Linked DNA regions of Homo sapiens: all the other regions are linked to region 4. The links are contacts of gene promoters, found by promoter capture Hi-C in blood cells and fetal thymus (Javierre and others, 2016). All regions are on one chromosome and are shown on one strand. The core of a region is centred on a gene start or on the middle of the fragment in contact, and the rest is flanking DNA. Distances in the headings are between cores, read along the strand shown.

Evidence for each region. Contacts are between HindIII fragments. The CHiCAGO score rates a contact against its expected background, and 5 or more counts as called.
Region 1: the fragment with the promoter of MIRLET7IHG here is called in contact with the fragment with the promoter of ZDHHC17 in region 4 in 1 of 17 cell types (non-activated CD4 T cells); the score reaches 10.6 in non-activated CD4 T cells.
Region 2: a contact is called between the fragment with the promoter of MON2 here and the fragment with the promoter of ZDHHC17 in region 4, in 1 of 17 cell types (naive CD8 T cells). The highest score is 8.0, in naive CD8 T cells.
Region 3: the fragment with the promoter of TMBIM4 here is called in contact with the fragment with the promoter of ZDHHC17 in region 4 in 1 of 17 cell types (naive CD8 T cells); the score reaches 6.5 in naive CD8 T cells.

Annotation. Positions count from the first base shown.
Region 1 is chr12:62,601,439-62,604,212 of GRCh38, forward strand. It overlaps MIRLET7IHG (MIRLET7I host gene), which reads left to right and starts at 1,305. Exons shown (of 2, transcript NR_186001.1): 1 at 1,305-1,397. LINC01465 (long intergenic non-protein coding RNA 1465) reads right to left here and starts at 1,996. Exons shown (of 1, transcript NR_121682.1): 1 at 313-1,996. It overlaps MIRLET7I (microRNA let-7i), which reads left to right and starts at 2,248; the gene lies at 2,248-2,331. RefSeq lists enhancers at 599-1,122, 1,123-1,644, 1,159-1,268, 1,349-1,538, 1,645-2,166 and 1 more and silencers at 1,619-1,928, 2,019-2,318. The HindIII fragment of the contact is 3,704 bases long and covers 936-2,774 here.
Region 2 is chr12:62,465,477-62,468,176 of GRCh38, forward strand. MON2 (MON2 regulator of endosome-to-Golgi trafficking) reads left to right here and starts at 1,350. Exons shown (of 35, transcript NM_015026.3): 1 at 1,350-1,842. The coding sequence starts at 1,732. RefSeq lists a silencer at 1,052-1,371 and enhancers at 1,402-1,511, 1,507-2,006. The HindIII fragment of the contact is 1,301 bases long and covers 101-1,401 here.
Region 3 is chr12:66,168,600-66,171,299 of GRCh38, forward strand. It overlaps TMBIM4 (transmembrane BAX inhibitor motif containing 4), which reads right to left and starts at 1,397. Exons shown (of 7, transcript NM_016056.4): 1 at 1,256-1,397. The coding sequence starts at 1,352. RefSeq lists enhancers at 549-648, 1,131-1,655, 1,299-1,378. The HindIII fragment of the contact is 2,376 bases long and covers 697-2,700 here.
Region 4 is chr12:76,762,678-76,765,377 of GRCh38, forward strand. It overlaps ZDHHC17 (zDHHC palmitoyltransferase 17), which reads left to right and starts at 1,438. Exons shown (of 17, transcript NM_015336.4): 1 at 1,438-1,652. The coding sequence starts at 1,560. RefSeq lists enhancers at 936-1,035, 1,332-1,626, 1,602-2,444, 1,636-1,785 and a silencer at 1,176-1,585. The HindIII fragment of the contact is 3,524 bases long and covers 104-2,700 here.

The sequences.
Region 1 (2,774 bases), core at 55-2,554, about 14 Mb before region 4:
AGGAAGGATGGTGTGAAGTTTCTACAGACTTTCTGGTAAGTGATTGATAGATGAGTTTATGGTGTGATTGAGTTTTTGCTTTGAGTTTATGCTTAGTGATTGATAGGTGAGTTTATGCTTTGTCAGGTAAAGCATTTAACTGCAAATGTATTATGTTTACACAAATATTCTTAATTGGAAATAGTTTCTGAATATGCACCTAAAAATGTTCTTATGAAATATGTCAGGCAGGCTGATTTTTAACTTGAAAACTTCTACTTTAAGAAATTGTTTGGGTCCCATCGCCTATACCATGTAGAATAGAAACAAAAAGCCAGTTATTTAATTTTTAATTTGCAATTAAACTCTTGGCCAAGAGGATCTGTTGTCCAAAATTACATCGTGATAGCTTAAGAAAAAAAAAATCTTACTTTGCCAGAAAGGGAATTATACAAGGATATCTTTATGAGTTGCTGCCAAATTTTGTTCTAGACCACGGCCCTCTGGCCTCCATGAAGGATCAAAGTCTGGGCAAAGACAATTCTAAGTTGTAGGTAAACATGCTTTTCATTTCCCTCCATTCCTTACTTTTGTCATAAGCAGTCTGGATTTTCAGGGGTAAAGGCTGATAGGGTTGCCAGATACAGTCATTAAAAATTGAGAATGTGCAGTTAAATTGGAATATCAGATAAACAATTTTAAAAATATATGTAACACACATATGCCAAAACACTGGTTATCTGAAATTCCAATTTAACTGGGCGTCCTGTATTTTATCTGACAAGCCCTAACTACTTCTTTAAAATAATTTGTTAACTTCCTACAAAAAATCTCTAAATGGGAGGAAAAAAAAAATCCCGTAAGTTGTCTGGGCCAAAAGCAGAAGTGGCTCCATGGCAGTCAGCCTTCTCCCTAACTTGGCTTAAAAAGAAAAAGCCAAAACCAGAAGTCCCAAAAGCTTGCGTTTAAAGCGGGCTGTGCCGCAGCTTTCCCGCCTGTTTTCTGCGGAATGTAGCACGGCAGCCACCCCGCGTGGGTGGGGCTCGTATGGTTGTGTCCTTGCTGGTTGGGAAAGGAGGTGCCGGAAACTTCAAACCACGGCCAGGGTACAACGTGTCCGCTTAGGCGGCGATATGCGCCGCCATCTTCTTTGCGGGCAAAGGCCGAAAAAAGTTTGGGACTCCACTCCCCCCCGCTGAGCCGATGGAGGGCATCGCCCGCTGCCTCAGCACTCTGGTGACGTGGAATCGGGGTCCCCTCTTTCAGGGCTGATTTCTGGTAGCACGCTGACGCCTGCCAAGGCAGGGAAAGGGGACGCCGCCTCTGTCCCGGATGTAAGATGGCGGCGCGGGGGGCGGCCTGGCGGGGCGGTCACGTGGTGAGGAGTAGCGCGCGAGCCTCCTTAAGTGATCTCTAAGGTTCGTCCGGACGCACAGGAGCAGCGGAGCGCGAGACGGGTCTTGTGTCCGCACGCGTCGAGTCGTCGCAGTCGCCACCCGGGCCATCGCCGGGCCCGGTTTCACTGTTAAGGGGTTTTCGTTTGTTCCGTTTTCGCCTCCTGTAGAGCTGAACGGGAATTCCCCGAAGGGTGCTGGGGAACGGGTGGCCTGGGGACTTCCCGGCTATGCCTTGGCTGCTGTTTGGCGGAGCCGGCGGCAGCCTCTGCGGGATGCCCGCCGGCGATTATCGGCGCCGAGAGCGGGCCGGCGGCGGGTTCGACAGCGCGGCGCGGGTGGGGGCCCGGGTACCGGACTCGGCCGCAGCCCAGCCCCCACCGGGGACTCGGAGCAGGGAGGGGCGCGAGCGGCGCAGCTCGGGACGTGGCGGCAGCTCCTAGCGGGCGAAGCGCGGGAGCGCTGCTCGCTGCCTCTCGGGGGCAGTCCAGAACCAGTTGGTGTCTGACTGCGCTTTTGCCGCCCATTTCCTGCTTTCGAGCGGCTGAGGCGACGCGCTCCCCTCGGGCAGTGGAGGGAGCGGCTCTCTCCGCAGGACACCGCCGCTTTTCTCTCTTCAGAGCGGTGGCTGACGTACAGAACGCCGGCTGTATCACCCGGGCGCCGGCGCCGCCTCTCATCCCCGTAGCTCTCGGGGCGCGCCGGGAGTAGCCGAGCCGCTGGGTGCTGGGCGGGGTCTCCGGGCGCGGCGCGGGGGGAAGGCAAAGGAAAAGAAGGGGCGGCGGGCCGACGTCGGCGGCGAGGAAGGACGGAGGAGCGCCGGAGCCGCTTTGCTGCCCTCCGCGTGGTCCCGTGCCTCCCCGACACCATGGCCCTGGCTGAGGTAGTAGTTTGTGCTGTTGGTCGGGTTGTGACATTGCCCGCTGTGGAGATAACTGCGCAAGCTACTGCCTTGCTAGTGCTGGTGATGCTCAGCGCCGCGGAGGACAATGGCTGGGAATCCCCTTTGTTTTCCGGGGCGCTGCCTGGGGACAGCCCGCGAAGCCTCGGCGCCCGGCCGGCGCGGCCACCACGGAAACCGTTAGTTTCACATTTTCCTAGAAGGAATTGAGGGGAGTGGGGTGGACCGCGATGCATTTTAAAGGTTGGGAAAGAGCTAAGCCATTGGATTCCTTTTCTTGAAGGAAGGAGTGGAATTGTGTAAGATAATTGATACAGATAACTTTTTCACCCTAAAAAATTCTAACACTTCTTTCAGCAGTTAAATGCCAAATTTAGTGTGTACCTGTTTTACTTCATTCTTTAGCTGTAGGTTGGAGTGGTGTGAGCGATCTGCAGAACTGGCATTAGAGGGGCAGAAGAAGTAGACCTGATAATTAAAGTTTATGCCTTAACATTTTA
Region 2 (2,700 bases), core at 100-2,599, about 14 Mb before region 4:
AAGCGCCTCGTTTTTACAAGCTCCCTGAGACCTCAAGAATAATGTCTGCCATATATTCCATTTGAACTTTTTTGCTAAATTCACCAGTTTTCATACATAAAGCTTATACCATAGGAGGTGTCAAGTTTCCCAGAAGTTGTGTAATAGGCACAAATGATCAAAATTACTGCCCTAGGAGCTCTCTACTATTACCTCATCTGTCCCCTTTATCCATCCTTGCTTTGCTTCTTATCAGAAGGAAAAATAAAATAAAATTATTTAGCTTACAAAGTAGCTCTGTTACAGCCAAACAGCGCTATCCACTGACAATCTCATGGCTCACTGTCTTCCATCATGTCATAAGCTCAGCTGTCTGAAGGTGTTGGTTTCTTCATCTCTACTGTTTCTGGTTTTTCCTCCCTCATTTTCTGCTTTCTGACCAGCAGCTGCAAAATGTCTTGGGGAAAAAGTAGACCAACCTGGATCTTGGGGAAATACAGATGAAGATTTTTCTGTTTGGCTTTTGCCTCATATTTATTTGGCACTTCAGACCTGATGAAGGCTTTTATGTATCTGTGCCTTATTTGAGCCTCGAAACTCTGATTTTATAATAGAAGGGTATTCATTCAACAAGTATGTACTGATTACCTGCTATATGCCAGACACTGTTCTAGGTGCTGGAGATACACAGGAAACAAAATAAGATTTAAAAAGAGGAAGAACCGGCAGCCCAACTCGCGAAACTCTCCTTTTAGCTGGGAGCATCTGCCAGTAAAGGGGCCGGGACAGATCTCGTAGCGCCTGGTAGGTGATTGGAGGAATTTTGGCTTTTACTTTGAGTGAGATGGGAGGCCAGCGGAATGCGTGGAGCAGAGGGTAGTCTCATTTTAGAGATTAGGAAAATAAGAGGCTACCCCACAGTAAGTGCACCAGTTGCGTTTAAAGAAAAAAAATGTATATTAACAGGAGGTAGCCACTGATTTGGGGCCACTAGTCCAGAGATTCGAAATGAAGCGGGAGGAGACACGTTAAGATTAATCTACAGGGAAACAAATTATTTACACCGAAATACAATTTAACACAAACATACGCAAAGAGATATGCCAAGGAGTACTCGGGGGCTCTGTTCAGGCACTTGTTAATGAAAACGAAGCGAATCTTGACGCCTTAAACCCTGTCTAGCCTACTTGATTCCGGGGGTGGGGCTGTGGGAATCGCTGCCCACCCGGAATCCCGCCTGCCCCGAGCATGGCCAAGCCCCAGCCCCGCCCCGCCGACGGCCTGCCGCCGGGGTTGGCCGCGGCGGTGGCGGAGGCCACGGTACCCGGAAGTGCGGCTGACGTGTCCCGGCAGCGCTCGGAATTGTGGGCGACTCGGCTAATGGCGTCGGCGAGTCTTAGGGGCCTGGGGAGCTGGCGCTGAAGCTTCTTGCCAGGTTGGCTGGTGACACCCGGTGTGGCTGGGCCCCGCGGCAGCGGAGGGACCTGCCCGCCTTGTGGGTTTCTCGGCCAGAGTCGGCGGAGCCTAGCGGGACGGTGCGACTGCGGGGGGCGCCTCCGAGAAAAGCCAGAGGTGTTGCGGGGAAGCTGCTGGGGGACGCTCGAGCAGGCTCCGGGTTCGCAGCCCAGGGCCCAAGAAGCGGGCTGCTGAAGGACCAGAGACACCGGGAGGGAGCTGCCTGTGGCCCTAAGGAGCTGACCGTGCCAGAGCTTGTTTGTACCTCTCGGAAATTGGCTGGGACCTTGGAGGATCATGTCCGGCACCAGCAGCCCCGAGGCGGTGAAGAAGCTGCTGGAGAATATGCAGAGCGACTTGCGCGCCTTGTCACTGGAGTGCAAGAAGAAATTCCCACCTGTCAAAGAGGTAAGCTTCAGGTGACGTCAGGAGAAGGCACTGTGAGCATGCCTGGTCCTGTTAGACTCAGTGCTTCACCCCAGTTTCCAGTCCTAATTTTCATTCAGGCCTCACCTTTCCAGATTTGTGAGTCGGTGGGTTGTTCCACAAGGGCTTTTTATAGTTTCCACTGGAGAGGGCTGAGGCACTTTGATTTTCTCCCCTCTCCTGTCCTCCCAGTTTAGGAGTGAAGTTCATGAAGTGAGCCTATTCAGTTAATCCAGCTAGGTGTACTGTGCACTAGCCTATTCTGGCCTTTTTCTTACTTGAAACTGGCCAAACCAAAATTGAAAAACTTGTTTGTTGCTCCCCGAAACGAGTATCCACCCATCTTGTTGAAACCTGTACTCCTCACGTTTATGGCATATCACTGAATTGGAAACAATTTTCCTTCTGGTATATATCATTCAGCTTAACTCTGTATCAATCCTTTGACGTGTTAATAAACTATCCAGAGCCACCTAATTTATGAAGAATATTGAAGATCCACATAATCATGTTAAACCTTGTTATGAGCAGTACTGTAGTGGGAAGTTGGGCTTGCAGTCAGAGCGAATACACCTGAATTTAGTTCCAGCAATAAATCTTAACCTCTTTGAGCTTCGGGTTTTTTTTTCCAGCTGTAAAATAGGGTTAAAGGATGGTTTTATATTATGTATGGGAAAGATGTCAGAGCAGAAGGGTATTATTAAAGAGATCCCAGTAAATAATACATGGAAATTTAATTCTCCAAATAGTTCTTGAGGTGAAATATTTAACATTTGGTTACTATTTGCTTTTTCTCTTAAAATGCCATTTTAATTCTCTAAAAAAAAAAAACAAACAAAA
Region 3 (2,700 bases), core at 147-2,646, about 11 Mb before region 4:
ACGTGTTCAAACCATGTTCAAACGGGCAAAAACCAAGCTGTAACCAATCAACTCTTTCTGTACCTCACTTCTATTTTCTGTACCTCACTTTACTTTCTCTCTCCATAAATTTTCTCCCACCAAGCGGCAGGACTCATCACTCTGAACCTTATTCTGGTTCCGGGACCTGCCCAATTCGCAAATCATTCTGTGCTCAAACTCCGTTAGATTTAATGTGTCTAAAGTTTTTCTTTTAACAGTGCACAACCATGTGAATAACTTAACACTACTGAACTATACACTTAAAAATAGTTAAGACGGTAAATTTTATGTTACCTGTATTTTACCACAATTAATTTTTTTTAAAAAAAAGCTGAGTTCACTGGCCAAAATAATTTCAAAATTCAATTCCAAAAATATAAATGCTAGGCACCAAGATTCTTGGTGCATCAGAACTATCTTCATCTTTCCTTTTCCAGAACAAGTTCTAGGCACTAAGATTCTTAGCACATCAGAACTATCTTCATCTTTCCTTTTCCAGAACAAGTTCCAGCTGCCTAAACAGGCTGAAAGTCTGGGGCTGTTTCGGCGATCAAATGACCAAACTAGAGCAGGCAATGGCTTCCACGTAGATGAAGCTGAGCATTTTAAATTCAAAAATTTCTGCCCATTGGCTACTACGTAATAACTTAAAACACAATTTAGACTGACTTAGGAAGCTTCTGTGTTGAGCAACTTCCTCAATAATCCTCAAAGACCTGTTGCATTCTGGGCCCTGCGGAGAGGAAATAGTGCCGTCAGGGAGCTTCCAGCCTAGCACAGGACGGTAAATATAAGCCTGTAACGCGAAACCCCACAGAACAAAAACATCAGGCCGTGGATTCCACTCGTGTGTACGTCAGTCACAGTGATCAACCGACTCATTTCCACGACGTTTCTTTTCACTTCAAGATGCCAAATTCAGGCTGCGGCGGTTTCCATCTGTCCCTTCCTACACCGCGGCGCCCGCTGGGGAGCCGGGGCGCACACAGGACAGCCGCAAGCCTTCTGGGCCTGGCGCCCTCCCACACCCGCTAGGAGGGGAGGAAGCGCCTCCCCGACTCCCTGAGGAGGGCGCCAGTCCTCTGGTACCCGGAGAAGGAGGGCCGGGAGCTCAGTGAGCACTCCCTGTGAGTCCCAGGAGATGGCCGCTCTCCCTCGGAAGCCGGAAGTCGGCTTCTAGAGGCCGAGCAGTGCAGACAAGCGGCTGGGAGGCACTGGAGAGGGGACAACGTACCCATTCGGATGTGCACGGTGGCGGAGGCCACGCTGCTGCCATAGTTGAAGTCGTCCTCGATCGAGGAGCGAGGGTACCGGGGGTCGGGGTCAGCCATGATGGCAACAGCACCCCTACCGGTCCCGGTCCACTAACCGCAACCGCCTCCTCCCCACTTCCGCGAGGAAGAGCCCAGCCCCAGCAAGCCGTGCGGCGTCGGCGGGCGAACACCGAGCGAGTCGATTTTCTCGCTTCAAAAATTCCAGCTGGGCGGAGAAAGCGGGGATGGCTCCGAGTTAGAATGGAAGAGAAAACGGTTTACATTCCCGGCGTCATCTGAAGTGAAACTTTTCTCAACACACTTTTTTTTTTTTTTTTGAGATGGAGTTTCACTCTTGTTGCCCAGGCTGGAGTGCAATGGCACGATCTCGGCTCACCGCAACCTCCGCCTCCCGGGTTCAAGCGGTTCTCCTGCCTCAGCCTCCCGAATAGCTGAGATTACAGGCGCCTGCCACCACGCCAGGCTAATTTTTTTATATTTTTAGCAGAGACGAGGTTTCACCATGTTAGCCAGGATGGTCTCGATCTGCTGACCTCGTGATCCGCCCGCCTCGGCCTCCCAAAGTGCTGAGATTACAGGCGTGAGCCACCGCGCCCAGCCTGAACACACTTTAAGTCCTTTCACCTTGGAGAGTTGCTAAAGTGATAGAACCCATGTCCCAGTCACCCATCCACTCAACAAATACCCATCTCATTCATCCACTTTTTCAATAATCACACCGAGGATGCATTTTTACTTCTATTATTTTAAAATAATAATAATACCTACATTTATTGAGCACTTTCTATAAACCAGGCTTTCTGAATGAAGTAATATTTAATCCTGAAAGGCAAGTAGGAGCCAACCAGAGAAAGAGCAGTGATGTAGGCTGGGCCTCAAGGGACCAACGTCTGCAAAGAGGGAGACGGTGAAGCTCAGCTGGTGTAGGGGACAGGTGGCAAAGAATGAGGCTGGATAGATAAACAAAGGCCAGATCATCCTAGGCCAGAAGTAGAATACATTGAAGAGGGCCATTACCAAAGGCAGAGAAAAGGGGATAAAGTTGTATTACTGTAAGAGAGAGATGATGGTGGCAAATACAATGGATTAGAGTGAATATTCATGATATTGTTGTCATTCCAATATAAAGAGGTGTAGACATACCCAGAGTAGTGTCATCCTAGGGTCCCTTGGAATTGTTTTGATGAGTTTACTCTGATCTACCCACATTGCCCAGTCCTCACCTTAACCACAACACCCGAACACTTAGCAAGTGGAATTCAGAACAGTTGTGGAACAGTCTATTCTAAACTAAATCCTTAAACTTGATGTTCTCAGAAGCCTTTGCCAAAAGAACTAACGTCACTTCCACAATGACAAGAAAAACAAAACAAAACAAAAAAACACTTTATCTTTTATGATTTTA
Region 4 (2,700 bases), core at 188-2,687:
TGCAGAACTGATTCTGGCTCTCCTTAGACCCTCCTCAGACTCCTTTGGCGGGAAACTAATCTTACAAAGGAGGCTTCCTCTTTCCTTTTCCAGTGGCATTCCAAGCTTCCTTTGGAGTGCCCTCCCTCCTGATTTACAAATTGGCCTGACGTTATCGGAGTACAGGCTTTTTCCTGGTGGTTTCTGGCCTAACAGGAGACAGATTAGTAAGTACCAGGATCTCTAATAGGTCAACTTTCATGATCTCTGCTAAATTCTCAGCTGTTTAGACTTACAATTTTTAACAGCTAAAAGGAAAGACAAATGCTATCTAAAACTGTCCCATCAGCCCATTTACAGGGAGCACCTCCCCCATACCGCCCTAAAATCCTTTAAAAAATGGCTTTAGTCATTTTATCTGCCTTGCATTTAAGCGAATTCAGTTTAAGTGGCTTCAGTTCTGAATTCCTGGATTATATCGAAATGTTGCAGATGGCGGTGTGTGGGCTTTGAGCTCGTAAATTTTTTGTGTGGTACTAATTCAAGACGATTGAGAGCAGGTTGGGATCATTTTAAAAAGAGTTCTCGGCAGGGTGTGGTGACTCAAGCCTGTAATCCCAGCACTTTGGGAGGCCGAGGCGGGCGGATCGCTTAAGGTCAGGAGTTCGAGACTAGCCTGGCCAACATGGTGAAAACCCGTCTCTACTAAAAATACAAAAATTAGCCGGGCGTGGTGGCGTGCACCTGTAATTCCAGCTACTCGGGAGGCTGAGGCAGGAGAATCGCTTGAACCGGGAGGCAGAGGTTGCAGTGAGCTGAGATCGCGCCATTGCACTCCCGCCTGGGCGGCAAGAGCAAAACTCTGTCTCATTAAAAAAAAAAAAAAAAAAAAAAAAAAAAAAAAAAGGGTTCTCTAGTAGGAAGTCCCGAGTTGTATCCATGTTTTTCCGGGCGTCCCCCGGAGGGACAGGTTGCGGGTGACCTTTTCAAGTGTGGAGGAAAGGGAAGCTGCTTTTGTCTTCAGGAATGATGCAGGTCTCGACTCAAGCCTGACGGGCCCAAACCTCCCTGGAGCTGGCTGACGACTCTGCCCGAGTTCCTGAAGAGGGGTCCCGGGGGTCCCGGAGCGGAAGTGGGAGCGCGTGGGCGTGGGCTCCTCGGCTGCCTGGGGCTCCAGACTTGTGCTGCGTGCGGCTCCGGAGCTCTGTTCTCGCTCCTGAGCAGCTGCTAGGTTTCCCAAGCGACTGTCTCAACCGCCCGGCCGCCTCCCCCGGGCAGCCAGAGCTTCACATCTACCTCCAGCCGGGACCCGCCCCCGAGCCGCGGGGCCCACGCCCAGAGCCCTCCGCCGTCCCCAGCGCAGTGCAGCAGAGCGCGATCCAGTCTGGGGCCGGGCCGCGCTTCCGCGCACGCGCGGAGAAACCCGCGCCCTCCGAGGGGGGAGGGGACAGAGGGGGCGTCACGGGGGCAGGAGAAGAAGGAGGAGGAGGCCCGCGTCGCCTCCGGCGGGGCTCGCGCTCGCCCCGCGCTCGCCCTCCGCCTCGCCCGAGCCCCGGGAGGGTGAAACGCTTTCTCCCAGCATGCAGCGGGAGGAGGGATTTAACACCAAGATGGCGGACGGCCCGGATGAGTACGATACCGAAGCGGGCTGTGTGCCCCTTCTCCACCCAGAGGTGAGGAACCGTGCTGAGTGGATTCCTTGCCCTGCGGCCCTCCAGCCTTTCTTCCCCGGACTCGCCGAGGGCGGCGGCCGACGTGTGTGGGGTAGTGGGACGTGCCGAAGTTGGGGAGGGTGGGGAGGCGAATCCAGGCCTGAGCGCGGCTGCGAGCGGATAACGGGGGAGGAGATAGCGGGGCGGGCCCGACCGGGGCGGGCTCTGGGACGCAGTCCCTGGCTGTGCCTGGAGGACAGAGGTGGAGGTGTTGATGGTTCTGCTGTGTCGCCGCGCTGCGTTTGAGAGCAGAGGCGGAGGGGCCTGGTGTGGTTTTTGAACCGCAGCTTAGACCCTAGTCTTGCTCCAAGCCTCTTGGGGCCAGGTGGAAGCGCGTCTGGTTTTGATTTCTTTTTCCTTCGCCAGGGTGAATGACGGTATCTATTGCTTCCTTTTAGTCCACTGTGAGGGGACAGTTTCATGGGCATAGTGATGTCCTTCCAGGTAATGCCATGGGTAGCACCTCGGGCACCTTGTGTCGGGCGTCCTTTTTTGAGCATTTGTCCTTAAGCGATTAAGAAGAGAGGTAAAAACTTTTGGGAATAGACTTACACTCACATTAGCTTGTCAAAGTACCGTTTTTCTAGGAGCTAGGGGTGGACAGTGCAACACGTTTCCCATCACAACATGAGTGTCTTCCCATGTAAGTAAACAGTGCCCCGCTCCACAGTCAGTCAGTCTGTGCTTGTTTACCTCCGAGTTTGTAGCTGAGCTAGTGCTAGTTAAGGCTTGGAAGCAATTCTTGATGCATTCTGATTTTTAGTGATCCACAGTGATGTCTGTATGCGGCAGCGGCACAGTTTGCTGAAGAACTCGGGTAGTTTTCATGAGGTTAAAAGATGACAGTCGTGTTGTAGGATGAACAAACATGGAAGTCTCTACCTGGTTACTTTGCAATGGAGTGATTCTGTTTTTTTCTGGATTTGGGTTTGTACCATGCCACTAGTTTTTGTTAAAAAGTGAATAATGACAACCATCCTTTTATGTTGCATGTTAACACTCAACCACC